2 separate regions of the Homo sapiens genome follow, and region 2 is linked to region 1. The links are contacts of gene promoters, found by promoter capture Hi-C in human tissues and cell types (Jung and others, 2019). All regions are on one chromosome and are shown on one strand. The core of a region is centred on a gene start or on the middle of the fragment in contact, and the rest is flanking DNA. Distances in the headings are between cores, read along the strand shown.

Evidence for each region. The method cuts DNA at HindIII sites, captures the fragments that hold promoters and counts their contacts. A contact is called where the count stands out against the background at its distance.
Region 2: a contact is called between a fragment that was not itself captured here and the fragment with the promoter of KRTAP5-9 in region 1, in 3 of the 25 tissues and cell types used here (dorsolateral prefrontal cortex, mesendoderm cells and thymus).

What each region holds. Positions count from the first base shown.
Region 1 is chr11:71,544,962-71,551,774 of GRCh38, reverse strand. It overlaps KRTAP5-9 (keratin associated protein 5-9), which reads right to left and starts at 3,355. Exons shown (of 1, transcript NM_005553.4): 1 at 2,167-3,355. The coding sequence starts at 3,117. The coding sequence ends at 2,608. RefSeq lists enhancers at 1,342-1,391, 2,790-2,849, 2,392-2,936, 2,937-3,482. The HindIII fragment of the contact is 7,685 bases long and covers 1-4,843 here.
Region 2 is chr11:71,504,454-71,511,600 of GRCh38, reverse strand. It overlaps the pseudogene S100A11P3. Among named protein-coding and RNA genes, the nearest start is that of KRTAP5-7, 19 kb to the left of the region's middle. RefSeq lists an enhancer at 5,640-6,230. The HindIII fragment of the contact is 5,651 bases long and covers 1,062-6,712 here.

The sequences.
Region 1 (6,813 bases), core at 2,106-4,605:
TTTCATCCAATGCACAAGGGCTCCCATTTCTCCACATTCTCATCAGTGCTTCTTATTGTCTTTTTGATAATAGCCATCCCAGAGGATGTGAACTGCTATCTTATTGTGGTTTTGATTTGCATTTCCCTGATTTTCCCTGATGTCTAACAATGTTGAGCTCCTTTTCATGTGCTTATTAGCCATTTGTATATCTTCTTTGGAAAATGCCTATTTAAATCCTCTGCTGGGTCTTTAATTGGATTGTGTGTTTGAGTAGTAAGAATTCTTTATATGTCTAGATGCAAGTTCTTATCAAATATATGATTTCAAAGTAGTTTCTTCCACTCTGTTGGTGTATCTTCATTTTCTTCATAGTGCCCTCAGAAGCACAAAAACTATTCGTTTTGATGTAGTTAGTTAATCTAGTTTTTCCCTGTGGTTTTGGTGTCATTATCTAAGAACCATTTCATACTCCAAGGTCATGAAAACTTAACCTGTTTTGCTTCTAGTAATCCTCTAGTTTTGGCTTTTACAATTAGGTCATTGATCTATTTTTTCTATTTTTTTTTTGTTTGTTTGGTATATGGTATGAGGTCAAGATTCAAATTCACTCTTTTGCATGTGGACATCCAGTTGTCTTAGCAGCATTGTTTGTTGAAAACATTCCTCTTTTCCCATGGAATTGTATAGTACCTGTGAAAATACATTGACCACAACTGTGAGGCTTTATTTCAAGAGTCTCAAACCTACCCCATTGATCCATCTTTCTATCCTTATGCAAGAGCCATGCTGCCTTGATGACTGTAGCTTTGCAGCCCATTTAGAAATTGGAAAACCTGAGTCCTCAAACTTTGCTTTTCTTTTTCAAGATTGTTTTAGCTATTTAGGGTCCCTTGAATGTCCACATAAATTTTAGGATCAACTTGTCAATTTTTGAAAAAAGAAATCTGAGATGTTGATCGGAATTGCATTAAATTGGTAGAACAATTTTTTTTTGGAGTGTTTCAATCTTCACAATATTAGGTCTTCCAATACATGAACATAGGATTTTTTCCCCCATTACTTTGGTCCTCCTTAACTTCTTCCAATGGTGTTTTGTAGTGTTAAGTGTCCAAGTCTTGTACTTTTTTGGTTGCATTTGTTCCCAGGAATTTTATTGTTTCCTTACAACCTTTTTGCTTGCTTTTTGCTGTTGTAAAGAAACACAGCTGACTATTGTGTATAGTCCTTGTGTTCTGCACTCTGCTGAGCTCGGTTATTGGCTCTAATAGTTGTGTGTGTGTGTGTGTGTGTGTGTGTGTGTGTGTCCCTCAGCATCTTCTGTATACAAGATGAGGTTTTCTGTGAATAGAGATAGTTTTGCTTCCTTTTTTCTTACCTGGATGGCTTTATTTTCTTTTCCTGTTATGTTATTCTGGCTATAGCTTCAGTGAAATGTTGCATAGAAGTGGTGGGTGTGGACATTCTTTTCCTGTTCCTGATCCTAGGGGAAAACATCCAGGTTTTCATAGTTAAGCACCGTGTTCACTGTGGGTAGATGGCCTTTATCAGGCTGAGAAAAGTCCCTTCTGTTCCTCCCTGTGCCAAACCAAAGCTGGGAAGCCTGTGGACACTTGGATTCCTCCTCACTCTGAGCCCAGAGATGGAGGGTGCACTTCAGCCTGTGTTCAGCCACACCGTCTTGGATCCTTGAAGCAGCACAGTTTCCAGTGTTGTCCTACAGAGCATCTCAGGGACACAGCTCATTCTAGTCTCGCTTCCCCATCTCCTGGCTTGACCCACAAACTGGGGACTGGCTGGACCCAGAGAGCACCCATTACATCCCTTCCTAGGCACTGAGGGCAAAGTTCTCCTTCTCTCCCAAACATATCCTCCCATGGGGAAGAAGTAGGAGTCCAAATTCCAACCAAGACAGACTGAATCCCACTGAGATACAGCTGGGACTCCCTGTGTACTAATGAGAGATACTCACTCATTCACTCATTCATTCCTCGTCTTCATTCATTCATACATACTGCTAGTGGTTCCTTCATTAATCAGTTCAACAACTGTTTCTGGAATGGGAGCTGGGCCTGGCACACTGTTACAGCAGTGGGAGCAATAAGCTATCAGGGAGGAGGGGAAGGACATGTGGCCAGTTTGCCAATGAGACAGAGGCTGGAAGAAAAGAGTCAGTGAGACCAAGGCTGAGGGATGGAGAATTTATTTAGTGCTGCACCCAGATGCATTTTGGATTTCCATAGATACATGTGATCATTTGGGTTGCAGGACATCCATCTGCAAATGTCGTGAAGCTCCTGGCAGGCAAAGGAAAGAAGGGTTTGCTGTCTCCCATGGAATTATCAAGAAGGGGAATTCCAGGCTCTTGCTTGGCATGAGGGCAGCCCCCAGTGCAGTTTGGCTCAGACATATGGGGGCATGTGGGAAAGAGGGGCAAAATTGCCTGGGTCTTGGGATATTCTTATAGGGAATGGGCAGGGAGTGGTTCATTCCATTTCCTCAGGGGCTGGAAAAAGACGCCCTGAGCCAAGGGCTCTTTTCAGATCCAGAAGGGGATGTGCTTCAAGGGTAGTCACTTGTTGGAAAGCACAGATCTTCAGGAGCTACCTGAGGTTTCCCACTAGAGCCTCAGATCTTGCACTGGTAGCACACAGGGACACAGCATCTGGACTGGGAGCAGCAGGGCTTGCAGCAGCTGGACTGGCAGCAGGATGACCCACAGCCTGAGGATGAGCAGCAGGGCTTGCAGCAGCTGGATTGGCAGCAGGATGACCCACGACCCGAGGAGGAGCAACAGGGCTTACAGCAGCTGCACTGGGAGCAGTAGGGCTTGCAGCAGCTGCACTGGCAGCAGGATGACCCACAGCCTGAAGAGCAACAGCAGGGCTTGCAGCAACTGCACTGGGAGCAGCCACAAGAACCACAGCCTCCCTTGGAGCCCCCACAGGAGCCACAGCCCCGCTTGCCACAGCTAGAGCAGGAACAGGCTGGAACACAGCAGCACACGGGCTTGCAGCAGTAGACGGGTGCACAGCAGCTGGGGCCACAGCCCCTGCAGCCAGAGCCACAGCTCCCACAGCTGGAGTCACAGCCTCCACAGCTGGAGCCACAGCCTCCGGAGCAGCCACAGCAGCCCATGGTTCTGGTGGATTGAGGGTGGAGCAGGTAGAGGAGCAGGTGAGAAGGAGGTGCAGGTGTGGAGCCCCCTGAGCCCCGGCTCTTTATATCCCACATAGGAACACACCATTGTTTCTCTTTCCGGTTGCTGTTACACAGCTCCTGGAGGTATGTCTTGATTGTTTTTCTTTGGCTATGTTGATATTTTCTGGATCCAAGTATGAGCCCTTCCTCCTGAGATGATTTCCTTGTGGAATTCATACTGAAAGGAAAAACAGCTCCAACGCTGGCTCACCTCAGGAGGAAGTGCAGCTTCCTCAAGGTCTGTCCCAGTTCCTAACTCTTATTCTTCCTGGGCCTTTGAGCAGATCCAGTCAGCTCCCGAGCCCCAGCTTCTTCTCCTGCAGAGGGGTGCTAGCAACACCAGCCTCCGGGGGTTGCCTGAGAATTACCTGAGATCATTCATGTATTGCGTCTTTTGCAACACCCCAACTCCCCATCCCCCATGCTCATGCAGGGTTCCGTCTTGGCAGGACTGGGTCAATGTTGTGGGTTTTTGACGTTTGATGCTGTGAGACGCCCTCCCTCCCCAGAGCAGTGCCACTCTCTACCTGATTCCTGCTGATTCCCCCAGGGATGTGGTATCTTCTCTGTGGCAACTGTGGCTGAGGATGGCAGGGTTCTCAGCAGTGGGGAAGGAGGCATCCTCTGTCTACCTCCTCCCTATTCCTGGACCAGGAATAGGCCAGGGCAATGGGCTCTGTGATTACAGAAGGGAATTTCACACAGCATGGTCCTTGGGGACACGTGAGCAGAGCTTCCCGCTGCTTTGAAACTATTGTCTGGACAGGTTCTTCTCTTGGAGGAAAACAAAGCTTGGAGCAGAACTTGGAGGGTGGTAGGGGGACCATGATGGGTACAAAGAGCAGCCAAGAGACAGGAAGGATACTCCAGCTAGGAGGCAGGGCACCAGCAATGGTGTGGAGGCTGCAGGTGCAGGAACCCATCGGTACGGTCCACACTCAGATGCGGTTAAAATGTGTGATGAGTGGATGTGCAGGCTTACGACATTCCAGTGTGCCTCAGCTGACTTGGGGTGAAATCCAAACCCCTGACACTGGCCCCATCCACCTCTCCAGCTGGATTTGACCGTGGCCTTGGCCACCCATCGTTGCAGAACCAATCAGCCCAAAGCTCAGTGGATCAGTAGTTCAGATCCGGCACTGGATGGTGGCACAGGCCGCATGATTTGTGGGGTCTCAATTGGGAAGGTACCAATGGCTAACGATGGCAGCATGGCTTGGCTGGGCTGTATTTTGGGACCTCAGTTCCGGCTGTCTGCAGGGTTCCTTGGTTTTTCTGTAAATTATGTCAGCTGGGGCTGGCTTGTCCAAGATGCTGTGTTCACACACCTATGGGATGGCTACAACAGGTGAGGCCGGACAGATCTCCCTCCCCTCCCCCACCTCACGGCCTCTTCCCACGGCTGGCTTGGGCTTCCTCACAGCATGGTGGGCTCAGGGCAGCTGTACTTCCTAGGAGGTCACTCGAGCAGAGGCTAGAAGGTGCCTTATGACCCAGCCTAGGAATCCTAGAGTATTTCTCCCTCCTCAAGTCACTGAGGCCAGCCCAGATTGCAGAGAGAAGAGAAAGTCCACCTCTCCGTGGGAGGAGAATGACTTGGTGTCATCTTCAGACTGCCTCAATCATTCTTCATCCAGCCCTGGATTGGTGCCGGGGCCACACCGCACTCCTCCTTACGACCTGTGTGCTGGCAGTTCCTTACATGGAACAGACTCACCCAGGACCGCCCTGGACTGCGTCCCTCCTGTCTGCCCAACTCAGATCCACCTCTGACACCCCGTCCCGAGATAGCTACCCCCACCACCTTGCACTTTCTGTTTCATTTATTGATTCCCACGATGCCAAGCTGGCTCTGCTCTCATCCTTGTTTGTTCTTAGAGGTGTGTGTCCCACTCCAGGGGGGTGTGAGTTCTGAAGGGGCAGCGACTTTATCCCACACGCAGCCATGTAGCTGTGTCACCAACACCTGGACATGCTCCATCATCGTCATTGAGAGAGGGAGGTGTTAACTGAAGAAGGACGAGGTCGTCAATTTGGAAAGGAGCGCTTTACTTCTCATAAAGTGCTGCGGGCTGAGTGTGGCTGTTCTGACTGGTTGGGAGGCGCAGCCTCTGGTAGGAAGCTGGAAACAGACACTTGGAGGGAGGGAAGAATAAAGCAGAGATCTACACTGAGTGGGGGTGGCTGAATATGCATATTCAATAAGCTGTGGGAGGGACATGAATATTGATAAGAGGAGAAACTGAGACATGAGGCCAGCTGGACTTCTTGGGTCCCGTGGGGACTTGGGGAACTTTTCTGTCTTACAAGAGGATTGTAAAATGCACCAATCAGGAACTTTCCTGTCTTGCAAGAGGATTGTAAAACACACCAATCTGCACAGGATTCTGAAAGTAGCCAATCGCAGGGAGGATTGAAAAAAAGGCACTCTGATAGGACAGAAACGGAACATGGGCGGGGCCAATAGGGGAATAAAAGCTGGCCACACAGCCAGCAGCGGCAACCCACTCGGGTCTACTTCCACGCTGTGGAAGCTTTGTCCTTTCGCGAATAAACAATAAACCTTGCTGCCACTGACTCTTTGGGTCTGTGCCATCTTTAAGAGCTGTAACACTCACTGCGAAGGTCCGTGAAAGTCCATGGGTGCATTCTTGAAGTCAGCGAGACCACGAACCCACCAGCAGGAACCAACTGCAGACCCAAAACCAGGCATATGCGCAATCCAGCTTCACCCCCTCTCTATGTGCAAAAACCAGAGGTGTTAGCCTGATCTGAGGGTGGAGCTTTTGGCCCTCTGATGTCAAAAGGTGAAGCAGCGGACTCAGAAGACTTCCTTGCGCCTCTTCCGTAGAATGGCCAGGGCCTCTCCGTGGTGGATCTCCTATCAAGAAGGAGGGGGCAATGTCAGGGGTACACTGATCTCCTCAGTGCAGTCTCCACAGAATTGGTTTCTGTTTTCCCTGAGGGGAGGGAGCTGGGTCATGGCTGGCCAGGGAGTAGGAGAAGGGCGCAAGTCCAGCTTCCCATCCCCCCGTAGCCAGGAACTCAGCTTCCAAGGTTTCCCGGTTAACCAAACATAACATTCTAAGACCTCCTCCCCGACCATCTGAATGGACTTCCTCCTCAGCCAGGGCTGTTTTAAAATTTAACCTGAGACACTATGATGGGCAGTGGGGGTCAGACATGCCTCATTCTACCTCTCTGGCATTAACATCCACACAGACTTTAAGTCCGATAACAAACGTCTCACAACCTCTTCTCTCTGAAGCCTGCTACCTAAAGGCTTCCTCTGCAAATAACAACCTGGGTCTCCATGATCCTTTATCCTAACCCAGACATTCCTTTCTGTTGATCCCAGGTCTTTAGACAAGCTCAACCAACTGTCAACCGGAAAATTTTTACATCTACCTATAGCCTGGAAGCACTCCCCACCCTTCAAGTTGTCCCACTTTTCTGGACCAAACCAATGTAATGTCGACAAAAAGAGTCAAACTCTGTAAAATATTTGAAGAGAGATTTATTCTGGGCCCAATATGAGTGACCATGGCCTGAGACACAACCCTCAGGAGGTCCTGAGAACATGGGCCCAAGGTGGTCATGGTACAGCTTGGTTTTACACATTTTAGGGAGGCA
Region 2 (7,147 bases), core at 2,638-5,137, 41 kb after region 1:
GCCCCCAGAGGTGGAGTCTACAGAGGCAGGCAAGCCTCCTTGAGCTGTGGTGGGCTCCACCCAGTTTGAGCTTCCCAGCTGCTTTGTTTACCTAATCAAGCCTGGGCAATGGCAGGCGCCCCTCCCCCAGCCTTGCTGCCACCTTGCAGTTTGATCTCAGACTGCTGTAATAGCAATCAGCAAGACTCCATGGGCGTAGGACCCTCCGAGCCAGGTGCAGGATATAATCTCCTGGTGTGCCGTTTTTTAAGCCCATTGGAAAAGCGCAGTATTAGGGTGGGAGTGACCTGATTTTCCAGGTGCCATCTGTCACCCCTTTCTTTGACTAGGAAAGGGAACTCCCTGACCCCTTGCACTTCTCCAGTGAGGCAATGCCTCGCCCTGCTTCGGCTCACACACGGTGTGCTGCACCCACTGTCCTACACCCACTGTCTGGCACTCCCTAGTGAGATGAACCCGGTGCCTCAGATGGAAATGCAGAAATCACCTGTCTTCTGCATCACTCATGCTGGGAGCTGTAGACCGGAGCTGTTCCTATTCAGCCATCTTGGCTGAACCAGGCCATCTTGGATCCACCCAAGTATTTTCTGGGTCTGGAGGGTCCTGGTTCTCTTATGGACTCAGCGATGTGAAGTCATAGAATGCTGAGGTGTGGTTAAACTTTGGTTTGATCTCATCCTCAGCCCGAACACCTTCCCCTCTCCCAAGGCAGCAGTGAAGGGATGGTTCATGGATACGACCTAGGGGAAGGAACAGGGACCCTGACAGTGTGTGCTTCCGGATTTCTGTCTCCGGAACTTGACTGCTCCTCACAACACATAAGGCAAAACTGTCATAAATGTAAGGAAAGAATTTTTCTACTGGAGGCTAGGGACTTCAGGTTGCCATGTTTTGAAGCCTCCTGAAAACTCTAAGGTAGACATCCACTTCTGGAAAAACAGTGAACCCGGTATGTTTCTGGCTATGATTGAAAATTCTTGGTAAAAACAGACATCTGTTTAAGTGCATGGCTGTGTTTCCTGTAGCATTAGAGAAATTCCACGAGATTAGGAAGCATGAAGCCAGGGTGAATACTCTGAGGGATCTGGTAGTTCTAGGAACTTCGGGGCCTTGGATTTAAGAACTTCATGGTGAAGACTAAATCAATTGAATCTCAGCATAAAGCTGAGACATCGAACGGCTTCCCACTCCATGAAAGAGTTGCCTCGAGAGGTTCCGTATGTTGGTAACAGCAGAGGGCATTAAAATGAGTCTCTCTCAGTCTGGGAGCTGGATGGGAAAAAAAATCATGCCTGAAATTTCGCACCCACGTGCCGTTGTCACCTAGGTGAGGAGTTTACATTTTAATTCTCACAATCCCCAGGACACCCCTGTGCCTAGAGCCCTCGGGGTAATCCTTCCACTCTGGCTTTCTCCCCTCTATCTCTTTCTTGGGAAAATGTTTGCCCCATATTGAGTCAACACTGGAAGATCCACATTGGTTCATCTCTGATTTCCAACTTTTGAATTTGTCCTTACAATAAATTGAAGTTTCAGTGACTTGGTGCTTCAGGGACCCGTCCCCACTCTTCCCAAGGAGAACAAACCATGGTTACCATGAAGTACAATAGGTCACTAAAACGTATTCCTCCAGTCTAACTGAAACTTCATGCCCTTCTGTCAACATCTCCTGCTGGCCCCATCCCTGCTCCTCCCCACCTACCCATAGCCCCTGGTAACCACCTTTATACTTTTTCTATGAGACCAGCTTTTTAAGATTCCAGATATAAGTGAGGTCATACAATATTTGTCTTCCTGTGCCTGTCTTCTTTCACTTAGCATAATGCCCCACTAGTTATATCCACATTGTCATGAATGACAAAAATTCCTTCCTTTTAAAGGCTGTATAGTATTCCATTGTGTATATACACATTTTCTCTACCCATTCATCCATTGATAGACAGTTAGTTTGCTTCCATATCTTCGCTATTGTGAATAATGCTGAAATAAATGTGGGAGTGAATATATCTCTTCAGCAAATCAATGTCAGTTCCTTTGGATATATACCCAGAAGTGGAATTGCCAGATAATATGGTAATTCTATTTTTAGTTTTTGAGGAACCCCCATACTATTTTTTTAACAGCTGTACTAATTTACATTCCCATTAACAGTGTACAAGTGTTCCCTTTTTATCTACATCTTCATCAACACTTGTTATCTTTTGTCTTTTTGATAACAGTGATTCCAACAGGTGTGAGGTTATATCTCATTGTGGCTTTAATTTGCATTTTCCTGATTCTTAGAGATGTTGAGCATTTTTCATATATCTGTTGGCTATTCATATCTCTTCATTTGAGAACTGTTCAGATCCTTTGCTCATTTTTAATTGAATTGTTTTCTTGCTGTTAAGTTGGTTGAATTCCTTATATATTTTTGATATTCACACCTAATCAGATGTAAGGTTGAGAAATGATTGATGTTTGTGTGTCGATCTAAATCCTCAGACCTTGCTGAACTCACTGTTATTAGTTCTTGGGTTTTTGTTGTAGATTCCTTGAGATTTTATACATAGACTACTATGGTGTGTGCAAATATTTCTTCATTTCTCATCTGTATATCTTCTAGTTCTCTTGCCTTATTGCCCTGGCTAGAACTTCATTATGTTGAAGAGTGGTGAGAGTGGACACTTGTAATTGCTCCAAATGTTAGGGGAAAACATTCAGTTATCACCATTAAGCCTAAAATTGGCTATAGGTTTTTTGTAGATGATGAAGTGACACTCTAATCCTAGTTTGCTGAGTTTTTTAAAAATTATGAACAGGTGGTAAAAATTTCCAAATGCTTTCTTTGTGTCCCAATTGATGCAATTGTGTGAGTTTTCTTCTACAGCCTGTTAGCACAGTGGATCACATTGATTTACTTCCAAATGTGGAGCTAGTCTTACATGCTTGGAATAAACTCCACTTGGTCATGGTTTGTAATTCTTTAATATATTGCTGGATTCTATTTGCTTTCTTTTGTTGAAGATTTTGTGTCTATGTTCATGAGGGGCATTGGTTATTTCTTTTTTTGTATTGTCGTTGTCTGGTTTTGCTATCAGGGTAATACTGGCCCCTTAAAATGAATTTGGAAGGGTTCTCTTCTCCACTATTTTCCAGAGATTATGTAGAATTGGTGTTCAGTCTTTAAAAATTTGGTAATTCTCTGCATCTGAAAATTTAAAATTCCAACTTTCTTTTGGCATTTTAAAACTACACATTCAATTCCCCTAATAATTATAGAGCTATCCAAATTATCTATTTTGTCCTGGCTGAATGTTGGTAGTTTGTGCTTTTTGAGGAGTTGGTCTGCTTCACATAAGCTGTTGAATTTCTATGTGTAGAGTTGCTTGCACCGTTTGCTCATTATCCGGTTCATGTCTGTGGGGTCTGTAGTGATATCCCCAAACTTGGTATCCATTCCTGAAGCTTATAGTTTGTATCCTTGTATCCTCTCTTTTTTTTCTTTGTTGGTCTAGCAAGAGGTTTGTTAATTTTACTGATTTTTTTTAAAGAACTAGATTTTTGTCTCATTTATTTTCTCTATTTTTTGTCTCTAATTTCACTGATTTCTGTTCTTATCTGGATTTTTTTCTTCTTCTGCTTATGTTGGGTTTGATATTTTGAATATATTTTTATAGCTTTGTATGTATTATGATTTATATTACATTTTAAGTATATTTTTATAGAGTTCCTAGTGATCTTTTATTGAATACCAGATAAAGAGTATAAAAAACTGAGAAAGGTTTTGAGTGATGTTACTTTCTTGCAGAGACCATTTGTTTTCCTTCTGCGAAACAGTTAGACAAGCAGCAGATCACATTGATCCAGTGAGGCAGTAAGATAAGAGGCCAGGCTTTATTCTTTGTGAAGGAGTCTCTATTTCTGGCCTGTACTTCTCCCAGTATATAGTCTTGAGGGGTTTCAATAGAAAGCCTTAAGTTTTTACCAAGCCCTTTCTTATTAATCCTAAAATTAAATATTTATTTTCCAGAGCTACAAAACCTCCATAATCTCTGTTTTGCTTTAAAGGCTCTTCATGGATGCTTTTTGCTTAGCTCCTTGTCCTCTTTCCCCAGGCAGTTTCATAATCTTCAAGGGAAGAGGAGCTGCTGCACACTGGACTCACTTCTCTGAGCTCTTCTTTTCCCTGGAAGCTTTGCCCTGCAAGCTCTGGCTGCCTTTGTCACCCTAAAGTCTGATTTTCGGAAGGAACTGCCAATGCCTCAGCTGCTTTCTGCTTGTGCTCTTGTTCTCTCTGTCGCTAACGAATGGGCAGAGGCCCCACGGGAGGAGAGTGGAGCGCTGGCACCTGATGCATTCATTTCCCTTCTCACCAGGATCCAGGCACCTCCTGTCCTGGACACCTGGGTTTCTCTCTAGTGCTTTCAACTGCTGTTTTGTGTTAATTTTTTCTGGCTTTCCTACTTGTTCTCAGTGATTCTGTAGCTCAAATATGAGCTGTTCCATCAGAACCAGAAGAGGAGTCGCAATACGTATTTGAAAAATACACGAATAAATTATCTGCAAATTAAAAATAATCAGCTCTCCAGGAGTAGCTTCTATGGTGGGTGATGGCGACTATCTGAGGCTGGTGTCACAGGGGTAAAAGAGTTTACCAAGAAACTTGTAGGTTTTAAAAAAAGGCAGATTTATTAAAGAAAGGAAGGAAGTACATTGCAAGAAGGCAATGGGCAGGCCAGGAGAAGAGGAGCTGACTGCAAGGAGACAAAGGCTTGCAGGGGATTTTACAGGATGGTTCCTGGGCCATGTGCTGAAGAGGGCTGCATACAATACCTACAATGCCAAGGTTGCAGTGAGCTAACTTGCATTTTTCTATCAGCTGAGGGTCTGGTGATACCTGGGCATGGGAAGATTGTGAGCTATATGCACAGGAGGGCTGTGTGTGCTGGACTGTGAAGAAATGCAGACTTGTAGCTTATCTGCTTTCTCTTTTTGCTTTCCCTTGGTCCTGCCACCCTGGCTCCTTTTCCCTGATTAGGACGCCACAGCTTCCATGTGTTTTGATTTGTTAGATCTGACATGGGCCAATGAATTGTTTTTTCTTTAACTATATACAATCCTATTTTTCCCCTCATATAAGCCAATCCTAATGGAATAGAATCATCCTTTTCAAAAGCTTTTTACCAGAGGTCTCCACACCACTCCCAAGTACAGCCTCCCATGCCTCACTCAGCTACAACCTGGCAAAAATCTCCAGCCCTGCAGAGACTGAGTGGTGCATTGAGTCCCTGATTGCTGTTTTCCAGAAGGATCCTGGAGAGGATGGTTACAACTGCTCTCTCCAAGACGGAGTTCCTAAGCTTCATGAACACAGAAGAGGCTGCCGTCACAAAGAAGCAGAAGGACCGCAGTGTCCTTGACTGCATGACGAAAAGACTGGATGTCAACAGTAACAGGCAGCTAGATTTCCAAGAATTTCTTAATTCAAAATTGGCAGCCTGGCTGTGCATTGCCATGACTCCCTCCTCAAGGCTATCCCACCCTACAAGCAGACCTGAGGGCCCCTTCGGCCTGGCCTCCAAAGCCACCCCCTTTCCTTCCAGCTTCCTGTCACCATCTCCTCCTCACAGCCCACACGTCCCCTGAGCCCAGCACACCTACCTCCTCTGGCAGGCCCCGCCTGCGGGTAGAAATAAAACAGTTTTCACTCGCATCGGTGTGAAGAGACCACCAAACAGGCTTTGTGTGAGCAACAAGGCTGTTTATTTCACCTGGGTGCAGGCGGGCTGAGTCTGAAAAGAGTCAGCGAAAGGAGATAGGGGTGGGGCCGTTTTATAAGATTTGGGTAGGTAAAGGAAAATTACAGTCAAAGGGGGGTTGTTCTCTGGCAGACAGGAGTGGAGGTCACAAGGTGCTCAGTAGGGGAGCTTTTGAGCCAGGATGAGCCAGGAGAAGGAATTTCACAAGATAGTGTCATCAGTTAAGGCAGGAACAGGCCATTTTCACTTCTTTTGTGGTGGAATGTCATCAGTTAAGGCAGGAACCGGCCATCTGGATGTGTACGTGCAGGTTACAGAGGACATGATGGCTTAGCTTGGGCTCAGAGGCCTGACAACGTCACATTTTTAAAACATGAAAAAAAAAAGCTTTTTATTAACTACTCTGCTTAATTCAACTCCTTACTTCATATGTAGAGTTGATATAGCTGAATGCCTGCTGGATAAGTCAATAAAGGAAACCCTGACACTGCCACTTTGCAATGATAAAATAACTCATCAAATTGAAGATTTAACTGCAAACATAAAAACTGAGTAAACACAGTCTCTTCACATACATTTGGACAAATCTACAGACATCGCTGAACTTCTGGTATTGCTCTAGCACCAGCCCCAGCTAATTATTGGAAAAGGGTTTCTTTATAAGTGAATGGTTGGCAACAAACCAAAGTGCTGTCATCTCATAAACCGGACACTGAAAAGATTTGCAAAACAAGTACAACAATGCCACTCTTCTCACTTAGATGTTTTGTTTTTAGAAAATTTATTTTTTTGTAAAAATATGCTATTTCATGTTAACATGCAATGGGCTTATTATTTTTAGTGACTTCCTAAAATAAATCTATTTTTAGATTTCTCAGTTTTAATTTCTCAGGTAGCAACTATCAACAGATAAAAGCCACATAAGCAAATGCTCTTAGGGGTTTTGAGACCAAAGTGTTTGAGAATCACTGTCCTAGAGTTTTAAAACATTGGAAAGGGGAGGGGAATGTGTACCCCTGTCATTAACAGTATCCAGCTGAGAGGGAGGCTCGGGCTGACTGACTCGGGGTTCTATTGGAACACAGCCAGGCCTGTCCATCATGTATTGTCTGAGGCTGCTTCCTGCTGTCATGGGAGAAACTTTTGGGCGGATGCTGCTGGGAGCCGGTCAGACTGGGCAGACTGGATGAGAACAGGAGGATGAGAATGAGCAAAGGCACCCACGAGGAGAACAGGAGGAAAACCCACGCGTTTGGGGGCGACTAGAAATGCGCAGTGAGCCTTGGGGTCCCCTGTGCTGCCCTCAGGCTGCGTTTGCCTTGAGTGAAATATTTTCTCCAAAAGGCAGAGGAGAGGACAAAGCCCCCTGTGCATCTCCATTCTCCACAGCATCCCCAGGATGGCAG